3 separate regions of the Homo sapiens genome follow, and regions 1 and 2 are each linked to region 3. The links are contacts of gene promoters, found by promoter capture Hi-C in blood cells and fetal thymus (Javierre and others, 2016). All regions are on one chromosome and are shown on one strand. Each heading gives the region's core, a stretch centred on a gene start or on the middle of the fragment in contact. The rest is flanking DNA. Distances are from core to core; before and after follow the strand shown.

Region 1 (4,479 bases), core at 1,903-4,402, 260 kb before region 3:
CTTTGAAGCACAAATGTTTTAATCAATGAAGTTCAATTTACCTATTTGTAGTTGTTGTTCTTCATGGTTTTGGTGTCATGTTTATGAATCCATTGCCAGATACAAGGTCATGGAGATTTATCCCAATGTTTTATTCTAAGAGTTTTATAGTTTTTGCTCTTACTTTTAGGTCTTTGATATGTTTTGAGTAAATTTTTACATATGGTGTGAGGTAGGAGTTCAAATTCCTTCTTCTGCATGTGGCTATCCAGTTCTTCCAAGACCATTTCTAGAAAAGACTATCCTTTTCTTCACCTAATGGTCTTGATACTCAACCAAAATCAGTTAACCATAGACACATGGGTTTACTTCTGAACTCTCCATAGAATCTTCATAATTCTATTCCATTGATTCATATATTTATCCTTAGGCTTCACTCACTTGATTGAAGTTTCTTGGTAGTAAATTTTGAAATTCAGAAGTTTGAGACCTCAAACTTTATTCTTTTTTGTCAAGATTGTTTCAGCTGTTCTGTATTCCTTGAAATTCCATCTGAATCTTAGAGTCAGTTTGTCAATTTCTACAGATAATCCAGGGATGATTCTGAATAGGGATTCTGTTGAATCTCTAGGTCAATTTGAAAAGTATTGTGATCTTAGCAATACTAAACTTTTAGATCCATGAACAGATGTTTTTCCATTTATTTATCTTCTTTAACTTTTTCAACAACGTTTTGTAGTTTTCACAATATAATTTTGATATTTTGTTAAATTTATTTCTAAATATTTTATTTTGATGCTATTATAAATAAAATTGACTTTTTAATATTATTTCAGATGGCTCACAATTTATCTTTACATATTGACCTTTATCCTGCAACCCGGCTATAATTGTTTATTAATTCTAATAGCTTCTAAATTCCTTAGGATTTTCTGTATATAAAATCATGTCATCTGCAAATAGAGATCGTTTTACTTCTTCCTTTTCAATCTGAATGACTTTTACTTATTTTTCTTGCCCAATTGACCTGGTTAGAACTTCCAGTATCATGTTAAATACAAGGGGCAAAAGCCCCTTATATCTTGGTGGGTTTTTTTCCTACTCTTAGTGGGATAGCAACCAGTCTTTCACCACTAAATATGATGCTAGCTATGGGTTTTTGTTGGTGCCTTTTATCAGATTGAGGGAGTTCTATCCTTTTTCTTTCTTTTTTTTTTTTTGAGTATTCTTATCAGGAAAGGGAGTTGAATTTTGTTAAATGTCTTTTCTGCATCTATTGAAACTATCATATCGTTTTTGTTCTTTGTTCTATTGATATGGTGTACTATATTGACAATTGATTTTTAACTGACAAACCACTTGCATTCCTGTGATAAACTCTACTTGATCATGCCGTGTAATTCTTTTTAAATGTTGCTAGATGTAGTTGGCTAGTATTTTGTTGAGGAGTATTCCATTTATATTCATAAAATATATTGGTCTATAATTTTTTGTAATGCTTGTGTCTGGTTTTTGTATGAGTGTGATACTGGTTTTACAGAGTAAGTTGAAAAGTGGTCCTCCCTCATATACTTTGAAAGATTTTCTTTTTAAATGGTATTAATTTTTCTTTAAATGTTTGATAGAATTCACCAGTGAAACCATCTGGGCATGAGCTTTTCTTTGTGTATAGTTTTGCTTGTTTGTTTTGCTTTATTTTGCTTTTACATATTCAATCTCTTACTTATTCCATGTCTATGGAGATTGTCTTATTAAGTGAGTTTTATAATAATAGCTTGTGTCTTTCTAGGTATTTGTCCATTTCGTCTAAGTTATCTAACTTATTGGCATACAAATATTCATAATATTCCTTTATAATTCTTTATTTTTCTGTAAGAGAAGTGGTAATATCTTCTCCTTCATTTATTTTCTTTTTCTTTTCTTTCTTTTTTTTTTTTTCTGAAACAGGGTCTCACTCTTTCACCCAGACTGGAGTGCAGTGGTGTGATCATGGTTCACTGCAGCCTAACCTCCCAGGCTCAAGCAATCAATCCTCCCACCTCTACCTCCTAAGTAGCTGAGACCACAGATGTGCATACCATGCCTGGTTAATTTTTTTATTTTTTGTAGAGACGGGATCTCCCTATGTTACCCAGGTTCATCTTGAACTCCTGAGCTCAAGTGATCCTCACACCTCAGCCTTCCAAAATTCTGGAATTACAGGCATAAGCCACTGTGCTGGCCCTTCTTTCATTTCTAATTCTTATAATTTGAGTCTTCTTTTTCCCATGTCAATCTGGTTAAAGGTTTCTCTGTTTTAGCTTTTCAAAGAACTAGCTTTTGTTTTCCTTGATTTTCTCTACTGGTTTTTTATTCTCTATTTCATTAAGTTCCACTCTGATCTTTATTTTTTTTCCTTTTATTAATACTTGCTTTAAGTTTTGCTTACTCTCCTTTTTCCATTGTCTTATAGTGGAAGGTTAGGTTATTCATTTGAGATCTTGTTTATAAAATATGGATATTTATAGTTACAAATTTTCCTCTCAGCACTACTTAAGCAGCATTACACAAGTTTTCATATGTTGTGTCTTGATTTTTATTTGTCTTGAAGTATTTTCCAATTTCTCTTGGGATATGTCTTTAACCCACTGATTATTTAGGAGTGTGTTGTTCAATTTTCACATATTTGTGAGTTTCCCAAATTAATTTATGCTACTTATTTCTAACATCATTCCATTGTGACTGGAGAACATACTTTAATTACTTCTATACTTTTACATTTATTGAGATTTGTTTTATGGTCTAGTATTCGGTTTGTTTTTGAGAATGTTCTATGTGTACTTGAGAAGAACGCATATTCTTTTTTTATTTGGGTGGAATTTTCTATAGATGGCTGTTACATCAAGTTTGTTTATAATGTTGAAGTATTTTGTTTTCTAGTTATCTTCTGCCTAGCCATTCTATTCATTATTTAAGTCTCCATCTATGATTGTTTGATTGTTGAATTGTATATATCTCCCTTCATTTCTGTCAGTATTGCTTCATATATTCTGGTTATCTGATATTAAGTGTACATATGCTTAGAATTGTTATATCTTTCTGATAGATTAACTATTTTTGAGGACTTTGGCCTATGAGGGTATAGCAAAATTTATAGTATTAATTTCTCTAGAGTGGTCTTATTCAACTTTTTCATTATTTAGTTCCTTAAAAGGAAGTATACGTCTATTTTCATTCAAACACGCAATCTCCTTTGACACTGAAGCCTTTATAAGGAATAAATTAGCATTTTGGTTCCACAAAGAAAACTCAAAAATAAGACAACACTTTGATCTTGAATATAGAAAGCAATGAAGTCAGTTATTTTGGTATACTGATTACAATCGTTTTAGTAATAAATGAGTCTGGTTTTTCTGTGCGAATCAGTGACACATTAATAGCTTATTAGATGGTAAATGCTAGTTAACAATCATAACATTAGGAAAAAATAGAAGCAGAAAGTCTCTGCTGATGTGGTGCCATTAGACAAAGTTTTATATCTTAAAAAAAACACACATGTTGTTGATCAGAACTATCAGAAGTATCTCTTACATCAAGAAACAAAGTAAATGCTTGATAATGTGCTCAACTCAATTATCCAGTTTTTCTAACTCCTGCACATATTTCAATAATGAATGTCATATTTATAAATCATTTTGGAAAGTACATATTCTGAGTAATGAGAAGTTGATACAGTTTTAGGTTATCTCTACATATTGTCTATTGTAAATAGTACTTCAGTTAACACAGGGAGGCTTATATCTCTTTGAGATCCTGATTTCAATTCTTTTAGGAAAATACTCGGAAGAGGGATTGCTAGATCATATGGTAGTTCTATTTTTAATTTTTTTTAGGAACTTCCATACTGTTTACCCTAGTGGCTGCCTCATTTTTCATTCTCACCAACAATAAGCAAGGGCCCCAATTTCTCCACATTCTTGGCAACACTTGTTGTCTTTTGTGGATAGCAATAAATTTGACAGCAGAAAATTACTTTTCTTGGTGTATTAGTCTGCATTCTCCCGAGAAACAGAACCAATAGTGTGTGTGTGTGTGTGTGTGTGTGTGTGTGTGTGTGTGTGTGTGTTTATCAGAGAGAAAGAGAGAGAGAGATTTACTCTAATAAATGGGTTCACAGTTATGGAGGCTGAGAAGTTCCAAGATCTGTAGTTGGAAAGCTGGAGGTTCAGGAGACTCAATGATACAGGACTGAGGATTAGGTGGGCTGATGGCATAACTTCAGTCTGTGTCTGAGTCTGAAGACAGGAAAAGACCAATGTCTCAGCTCAAACACAGAGCTTAAGTCTCCCTTACACTGCCTTTGTTCAGGCCTTCAACAGATTGGATGAGGCCCACCACACTGGGGAGGACAATCTGCTTTACTCAGTCTTCTCGTGTAAATGTTAACCTCATTCCAAAACGCCCTCACAGACACGCTCAGAATAAACACAGTCTATGGCTCAGTCAAGTTGACACATACAA
Region 2 (4,712 bases), core at 2,126-4,625, 280 kb before region 3:
ATATCTGGGACTACATGCACAGGCCACCACATCTGGCTCCATCAGACTTTTAAAGGAGTCAGATTATCAGTTAAATTTTCCTAGGTCTGGACAAAGGAAGTTTCAGAAAAAGCTTTGTTTGTATCTGTTGTTTACTTCACTCTAGCTCCTCTACAGATGTAAATCTCCCCCCACTAAAGATAACTTTGCAGGACTACTTTTGCCAGTAGGTCCTCTGAACAGCCATCTCAAAATATTTCAAAAGAAGTATATTTTGGAGTGAAACCTTTTGGTTTCCTTTAGTCCACCCTTTGAAATTTTACTTCCGTAAAGTTTCACGTATTAAAAGTCAAGTTGATAGCTTTGGTGAGATTTTGGTTAGAGGTTGTCAGATAAGAGATTGGCAAAGGAGGATAACAGAACTTGGATGTTTGCTTCTCTAAATCTCATGTTGAATTGTAATCCTAATGCAGATGCCTGTGCCATGCTTGTATAACCTGCAAAACTGTGAGCCAGTTAAACTTCTTTTCTTTGTAAATTACCAACTCTCAGGTATTCCTTTATGGCAATGCAAGAACGGCTTATGATATGGTTTGGATCTGTGTCCCTACCAAAATCTCATGTTGAATTGTAATCCCAGTGTTGGAGGTGGAGCCTGGTGGTAGATGATTGGGTCATGGGGGTGCATTCTTCATGAATGGTTTAGCACCATCCCCTGAGTATGGTTCTCATGATGGAGTTCTCATATCTGGTTGTTTAAAAGTGTGTGGCACCTCCTCATCTATCTCTTCCTGCTGCTCTGGCCATGTGAGGTATGGGCTCCCTTTTACCTTTCAAGATGATTGTAAGTTTCCTCAGGCTTCCCCAGAAAGCAACATCATGCTTTCTGCACAGCCTACAGAACTGTGAGCCAATTAAACTTCTTTATATCTCAGGTATTTATTTATAGCAGTGTGAGAACTGACTAATACAGAAAATTAATACCAAGGAGTGGGACATAACTGTAAAGATACCTGAAAATATGGAGGTGACTTTAGAACTGGGTAACAGGCAGAGGTTGGAACAGTGCGGAGGGCTTGGAAGAAGACAGGAAGATGAGGGGAAGCGTGGAACTTCCTAGAGATTTGTTGAATGGTTTTGACCAAAATGCTGATAGTGATATGAACAGTAAAGTCCAGGCTGAGGAAGTCTCAGATGGAAATGAGAAACTTATTGGGAACTGGAGCAAAGATTATTTTTGCTATGTGTTAGCAAAGAACATGGTGGCATTGTGCCCCTGCTGTAGGGATCTGTGAAACTTTGAACTTGACAGTGATGATTTAGGGAATCTGACAGAAAAAATTTTTAAGTAGCAAAGCATTCAAGATGCTGCTTCTAACAACATATGCTCATATGTGTGAGCAAAGAAATAACCTGAAACTGGAAGTTATATTTAAAATAGAAACAGAGTGTAAAAGTTTGGAAAATTTGCAGCCTGGCCAGGTGGTAGAAAAGAAAAGCCCATTTTAAGGGAAGGAAGTCAAGCAGGCTGTAGAAATTTGCATAACTAAAAGGAAGGCAAGTGCTAATTGCCAAGACAATGGGGAGAAGACCTGGAAGGCATCTCAGAGAATTTTGAGGTAGCCACTGCTATCACAGGCCCAGAGGCCTAGGAGGGAAGAATGGTTTTGTGGGCCAAGCCTAAGGCCCCACTACCTACCCTGTGCAGGCTCAGGAGACCACTCTGCATCCTGGCTGCTCCAGTTCCAGCCATGGCTCAAAGAGGTTCAGGTACAGTTGGGCCACTTCTTCAGAGGGTGAAAGCCATAAACTTTGGCAGCTTCCACATGGTGTTAAGCCTGTGGGTACACAGAGTGCAAAAGTTGAGGCTTGGGAGCTACTGCCTACATTTCAGAGGATGTATAAAAAAGCCTGGGTGTTAAGACAGAAGCCTGCTGCAGGGATGGAGCCCTTAGGAAGAACCTCTACTAGGTTGTGTGGAGGGGAAATGAGCGGTTGGAGCTGTGAGAAGAGGGCCACCACAGCCTCCAGACCCCAGAATGGTAGATCCACTGGCAGCTTGCACCATGTGCCCAGAAAAGCCACAGGCACTCAACACTAGCCTTTGAGAGCAACCATGGGAGCTAAACCCTACAAAGCCACAGGGGCAGAGCTGCCCAAGACCTTGGGAGCCCACCCCTTGCATCTGTGTGTCCTGAATATGGGATGTGCAGTCAAAGGAAATTACTTTGAACCTTTAAGATTTAATGACTGCCCTGCTGGATTTTGGACTTGCATGAGATCTGCAGCCCCCTTTGTTTGGCCAATTTCTCCCTTTTGGAATGAGATTATTTTCCCAATGCCTATACCCCCATTGTATCTTGGGTGTAACTAACTTGTTTTTTATCTTACTGGCTCATCAGCAGAAGGGACTAGCTTTGTCTCAGATGAGACTTTGGACTTTGGACTTTTGAATTAATGCTGGAATGAGTTATGACTTTGGGGGATGTTGGGATTTTACGAAGTGAAAAGGACATGAGATTTGGCAGCAACCAAGGTGGAATGATATGGTTTGGATCTGTGTCTCCACCCAAATCTCATGTGAAATTGTAATCCCCAATGTTGGAGGTGGAACCTGGTGGGAGTTGATTAGATCATGGGGGTGCATCCTTCATGAGTGGTTTAGCACCATCCCTTTGGTGCTATTCTCATGATGGAGTTCTCATGAAATCTGGTTGTTTAAAAGTGTGTGGCATCTCCCTACCTTTCTCTTCCTCCTGCTCTGGCCATGTGAAGTGTGGGCTCCTTTTCACCTTTCATCATTATTGTAAGTTTCCTGAAGCTTCCTCAGAAGCCAAACAGATGCCAGCATTATGTTTCCTGTACAGCCTGTGGAACTGTGAGCTGATTAAACCTATTTTTCTTTATAAATTACCTAGTCTCAGGTATTTCTTTATAGCAATGGGAGAATGGACTAATACAGCCTATCACAGAAATTTGGTACTGAGGAGTGGGGAACTGCTACAAACATACCTAAAAATATGGAAGCATCTTTAGAACTGGGTAATAAACAGTGGTTGGCAGAGTTTGGAGAGCTCAGAGAAGACAGGAACATGATGGAAAGTTTGGAACTTCTTAGAGACTGGTTAAATGGTTTTGACCAAAATGCTGATGCTGATATGGACAGTGAAGTCCAGGCTGACAAGGTCTCAGATGAAAATAAGGAACTTACTGGGAAATGGAGCAAAGGTCAGCTATGGTATGTCTTAGCAAAAAGCTTTGCTGCATTCTACTCATGCCTAGGGATCTGTAGAAGTTTGAACTTAAGAATGATGACTTAGGGTATCTGGTGGAAGAAATTTCTAAACAGAAAAGCATTCAAGATATGACCTACTTCTAACAACATATGCTCAGATGCAGGAGCAAAGAAATGCCTAAAAGTTTGAATTTATATTTAAAGGGGAAGCAGAGTGTAAAAGTTTGGAAAATTTGCTGGCTGGCCATGTGGCAGAGTAAAACAAAAAGCATTAACAGGAGAGGAAATCAGGCAAGCTTTGGAGCAACCAGTTGCTAGAGATTTGCGTGACTAAAAGAAGCCAAGTGTTAACAGACAAGACAATGGGAAAAGGCCTTGAAAGTATTTCAGAGATTTTCTAGGCAGCCCCTCCCATCACTGTCTCAGAGGCTTAGGAGGACTGAATGGTTTTGTGGGCTGGCCCTGGGGTACTACCACCCTGCACCACCACAGCAGGCTGCTTCTTGCATCCTGAAGCCTTGGGTCAAAAGGCCCCAGGTATAGCATGGACCACAGCTCTGGAAGGTGCAAGCTGTCAGCCTTGGCAGTTTTCATATGATGTTAATAGGAACTCAGAATACAAGAGTGAAGGAGCATTGGCAGCCTCCACATAGATTTCAGAGGATGTAAAAAAAAAAACAAACCTGGGTTTCCAGGAAGAAACCTGTTGCAGGGGCATAGCCTTCATAGAAATACTCTACAAGGGTGGTGCCAAGGGGAAAGATAGGGTTGCAGCCCCCACACAGAGTCCCCAATGGGGCACTGGCTAGTGGAACTATGGGAGGTGGGCTGTCACCTTCCAGACCCTAGAATAATAGATCCAACAGCAGCTTGCATCCTGAGCCTAGAAAAGCCAAGAAGTAGAGCTGCCCAAGGCATTGGGAGCCCACCTCTTGCACCACTGTGCACTGGATGTGAGACATGGAGTCATAGAAGGCTATTTTGGAGCTTTAAGATTTAATGATTGCTCTGCTGGGTTTCAGACTTCTGTGAAGCCTGTAGCTCCTTTCTTTTGGCCAATTTCTTCCTTTTAGAATGGTAATGTTTACCCAATGCCCATATCGCCATTGTATCTTGAAAGTAAAATACTCGTTTTTTGTTTGTTTGTTTGTTTTATTTACAGATGCATAGGTGGAAGGAACATGCCTTGAGTCTCAGATGAGATTTTGGACTTCAGACTTTTGAGTTAATGCGGGGATGAGTTAAGACTTTGGAGGGCTATTGAGAAGGAATGATTGTATTTTGAAATGTCATAAAGACTTGAGATTTGAGGGCCTAGGGCAGAATGATATAGTTTGGATGTTATCCTTTCTAAATCTCATATTGAATTATAATCACCAATGTTGGAGGTGGGGCCTTTTGGGAAGTGATTGGATCACTGGGGCAGATTTCTCATTATTAGCTTGGCACCATCCTCTTGGTTCTGTCCTTGCACTACTGAGTGAGTTCTCATGAGATC
Region 3 (4,509 bases), core at 538-3,037:
ACAAACAAACAAAAAACCCCCACAAAACCTGTTGTGTTCCTTTCTGGTTAGTACTTAAAAAGTATAGAATTAAGGGCCTCCATGTTTTCTATACTTTCAATAAACAGTCATGCATGCAGCATGGTTTGTTTTATTAAAATCTTTGGGCCAAAAATCATGAGAGAAACTAAGTCAATTTTCATGACAGGCAAATTCTTCTGAAAAAGGCTCATTAGACTTTTTAATTTAAAGACAGTAGTTTCTTATTTTATTTATTTATTTATTTATTTATGTTGACAGAATCTCACTCTGTCGACCAGGCTGGAGTGCGGTGGTGTGATCTCAGCTCACTGCAGCCTCCGCCTCCTGGGTTTAAGCAGTTCTTCTGCCTCAGTCTCCTGAGTAGCTGGGATTGCAGGCATGTGCCACCACAGGGTTTCGCCATGTTGGCCAGGCTGGTCTTGAACTCTAGGCCTTAAGTAATCTACCCACCTTGGCCTTCCAAAATGCTGGGATTACAGGCATGAGCCATGGTGCCCGGCCCCCTCTATTTTAACTTAACAAATACTTACAGTTAATAAAGTATTAACAAATACTTTATTGCCCTCTATGTGCAATCAGTGTGTGTGACCCTAAGAAGAATAAGTGTGACTACTCTAAGGAGCTTAGAGGGGAAATGAAACAAAATATCAGACAGCACAAACTGTATGATATTCCAGTGACACTGACATTAAGACAAGGAGACATGATGTAGGGGACTGTGGCTCTGCTGCTTATGGTGAGAGCTGGGGGCAAGCCGTTTACTTCCGTGCACCTCCATCTCCACATCTGTGAATGATTAATACAGCTTACTTCACAGGGCTTATTTGAAAATTAAACGTGGTTGTATTGGGACACCTCAAAAATGTTAGTCTTTTTCCTACAGGGAATCACTGGGGATCATGCGGTTCTAGAGGTCATTTGCAGATGAGGACGCTGAGGACCAGATATTTAAGGAATAAGGCTAGGGTCTCACAGTGAGTAGTGGCTCAACCAGTTTAGGAGTCAGGTCTCCTTAACTCATGGTTCTGTAGTTGTATAAAACACCTGGAGGGTTTAAGAAAGGGCAGTGTCACAATCTGTTGGAAAGAATTAGGAAAGGATTTAGGGAGGAGGTGTCTCAAGAGATTGACTTTGAATTGTGCTGAAGAGATAAAGGCAAGGACCTGACCCAAACCCTGCAAGGTACGTTTGGGAATACTGCTAGTATATTTTGACTGGAGTGTAGGATACAAGATGGGAGCAGTGAGGGATAAACGTGGTAAAACAATTTGAGATGATGCAATAGGGATTGTTTTTTGGATAGTTGACACTATTGTAGCTGCCCTATAGGGAGAGGAGCCAAGTTGCAGTATGTACTGTGATTCTCTGATGGGAGACTAGAAACCCAGAAAATGGTTAGAAACTATTTGCACTGGTCCAGGGAGAATTGAGGGACCTGATCAGGATGGCAGATGGATTGCAATGAGAGGACAAGAGAAACGCTACAAGAATTTGCAACTGATTGGATTTAGGAAAGCAGGTGATGGAGGAATTAGAGATAAATACGATCTTTCAATCCTGTTGAGAGAAATTATTACATTAGAAGAGTAGAAAAACAGGAGGAATTCAGTTAAGGAGAAGATGAGCATGAGGCCCTGATGGGCCATCTATGTGCAGATTGAACTGTCTCTCGAGAGAGCAATCAGGACTGGGCTTGTAAATTCGTAGGTCACAATGTATAGGGCTTAGCTGAGTTGTAGAATAAGGGTCTACTGAGGGACCAGGTGGGAAAACCTGATGCCAAGTTCCATTCAGCAGAGGAAGAGGAGCTCCCCTAGTTACATTCAGGTGAGGAAGAGTGATGAATGGAGAAAAGGAGAGTTCGAGAGGCAGGACAAAAGTCAGGAAGTGTAACTCCTTTTCACATACCTTTGTGGATTAGATGTTCTAACACGTCACAGTGACCATACTCGGCAGCGACGCCTAGTGGTGTGACTCCAAATCCATCTCTCAGGTGGACATTGCCTCCATGTTTCAGCAGCAGAGCTACGATATCTTTTCGGCCTTGCTTGGCTGCTTCATGCATTGCTGACCATCGCTTGACACAGGGCTGGTCTAGGCTAGTGTTATGTTTGATCAGAGTCGACACCATGTCATAGGAGCCCTTTTTCACAGCTTGAAAATGATTGTTAAAAACAACAGTAAGTATATTAACACAAATACCTTAGGTGGTATTAAACTAATTACTAAATTTAATATTGAAATAGATACTAGCTAGTAACTTTTTTTCTACAAGGAAAATAATGTATTTCTCATATCCCTTCTGTTTCTCATACCCAAGTTTATATTTGTGAAATATAAGTTTACAAGATGACACTACCTTTTCTTTAAGACCTGGAGGAGGGGTAAGAGTTTCACAGAAAATAACACGTATCACTAGGATAGGATGCTGTGTGCCCTCTTTCCAAATTTTAATTTCTTCACCAACAAAATGGAAATAACACTTGTTGTTGGGTTGTACAAATTAAATAATGTATGTAAAATTCTCAGTGTAGTACCTAGTACATAACAGGAGCTCAGTAACTGGCTATTATTATTATATCACTCCTAGGACCCAGGAACCTCATATGTAAATCATGTTCATCAGGTTTCCCCTATAGAAACAGGGTTTTTTCCCCTTGCCGCAAAAGATAGCAGCAAGTATTGAATGAACTTCTCTTTCTTATATATGTATTTTCTTTCCTTTCTCTTTCTTTCTTTCTTTCTTTCTTTCTTTCTTTCTTTCTTTCTTTCTTTCTTTCTTTCTTTCTTTTCTTTCTTTCTTCCTTCCTTCCTTCCTTCCATTCTTTCTTTCTTCTTTTCTTTTCTTTTTTTTTTTTTGAGACAGAGTCTCGCTCTGTCGCTCAGGCTGGAGTGCGATGGCACAATCTCAGCTCACTGCAACCTCCACCTCCTGGGTTCAAGCAATTCTCCTGCCTCAGCCTCCTGAGTAGCTGGAATTACAGGCGCATACCACCAAGTCTGGCTAATTTTTGTATTTTTAGTAGAGACAGGGTTTCACCGTGTTGGTCAGGCTGGTCTCAAACTCCTGACCTCGTGATCTGCCCGCCTTGGCCTCCTAAAGTGCTTGGATTACAGGTGTGAGCTACCACGCCCGGCCCTCTTTCTTACATTTTTAATGGGTGATTATCAATTAGATTGTTTAGAATCTACATAGGCCAACTGTTCCCAGTGAGTGAAGTAAGTGACCGTTAATGTAGTACAATTAAGGAGGTTCACCAAATCAGTTGTCCCTCTCCCTCTCTGCTCATCTCTAATGGCTGAAATTATACTGTTACAAGGTTTTCCCCTTTTGGATTATTAAGAGATTGTCCCCATTTAGATGTATACACTTCTAAAAATGTAACTTTTTTTTCCTTTTAAGTAAAATCTTATTAAAATACAGATTAGGATGAGTGCTGCCCCTACAAATGGAGATGTACACAGTTACATTCACTCATTCATTCATTCACTCACTCATTTCCTATTCAGTTAATACGGCTAGCTCCACTAAAGGCTCTGTGTTATGCACTGTGGACAACAGGAAGAAGAGACAGATTTGGATCTCACTCGTAGAGTTTATGGCCTAGAGAAGAAGCCTATGCTGCCTTCTATTTAAAGAGAGACTCAAAGTCTGGGCCTGTACTGGGAAACGTAGAAGAAGATATGAGGCCACATGGAACATTCTGGGGTAACCAGGAGGCAGAACGCAGAAAGGATCTAAAGCCAAGGCAAGGAAAGCAGCTCCCAATGTGGTAATGGGAGGATGAAGACGAACTTTGCCTACTTCATTTGGGAGCAGGCAAGCCATCCCTGCAGGAGATGCCCGTTTTTCTCCCTCTCCTTGTCTAAAGTAGAACCTGTTGACAAATGCCTCTCTCTGAATTGCCCAACTGTCACTGGCAGCTCTAATTACAGTGAATTACCTCATGCTAGCTGGTGTTATTGCAGAGCAAACATCAAGTAAGCTAAACAAACTAAGAGAAATGTGTCCTCATGGATCTTCTTGCTCTGATGGCAGTTTTTATAATTAGAAAAAAAATGTATTAAAATAATGAGCCTGTTCCCTCATAATCTTTTTACCTTTTGTCTGACTCAGAAAACATATGGATTAAAATAGTTTCTCTTCATGAAAATAACTGCATAAATGGGCCATCTTCAACTTAAGATAGTTTTTAAAAAATCAAAACTTCACTTCCAATTTAATTTTTTGAAATCAAGAATGTATTTCCCATAGAAATAATAATGCAAATGGTAGGAAATCCCTTCCAAGCTAACTCATGAAGACATTCTTAACCAATAAATGACTGAAATAATGAAAACTCATAAAGCACAGTATTGGTGTAACATAAATGATTAAGTAAAATAATTTAAAAATGTCTTGTTTTACATGTGGATTATATATATGTTTACATATTATATATAAATTTTTTTCTCTAGAACTTAAAATTCTAAAATCTAGAATTCTTT

Evidence for each region. The method cuts DNA at HindIII sites, captures the fragments that hold promoters and counts their contacts. A CHiCAGO score of 5 or more calls a contact.
Region 1: a fragment that was not itself captured here is called in contact with the fragment with the promoter of ASB15-AS1 in region 3 in 3 of 17 cell types (M2 macrophages, fetal thymus and naive CD8 T cells); the score reaches 5.3 in M2 macrophages.
Region 2: a fragment that was not itself captured here is called in contact with the fragment with the promoter of ASB15-AS1 in region 3 in 1 of 17 cell types (fetal thymus); the score reaches 5.7 in fetal thymus.

Annotation. Positions count from the first base shown.
Region 1 is chr7:123,882,467-123,886,945 of GRCh38, reverse strand. No RefSeq gene overlaps it. Among named protein-coding and RNA genes, the nearest start is that of HYAL4, 40 kb to the right of the region's middle. The HindIII fragment of the contact is 9,096 bases long and covers 1-4,479 here.
Region 2 is chr7:123,902,846-123,907,557 of GRCh38, reverse strand. No RefSeq gene overlaps it. Among named protein-coding and RNA genes, the nearest start is that of SPAM1, 20 kb to the left of the region's middle. The HindIII fragment of the contact is 275 bases long and covers 3,238-3,512 here.
Region 3 is chr7:123,622,235-123,626,743 of GRCh38, reverse strand. It overlaps ASB15-AS1 (ASB15 antisense RNA 1), which reads left to right and starts at 1,787. Exons shown (of 5, transcript NR_111922.1): 1 at 1,787-1,848; 2 at 3,584-3,770. It overlaps ASB15 (ankyrin repeat and SOCS box containing 15), which reads right to left. Exons shown (of 12, transcript NM_001290258.2): 8 at 1,930-2,175. The HindIII fragment of the contact is 15,446 bases long and covers 1-4,509 here.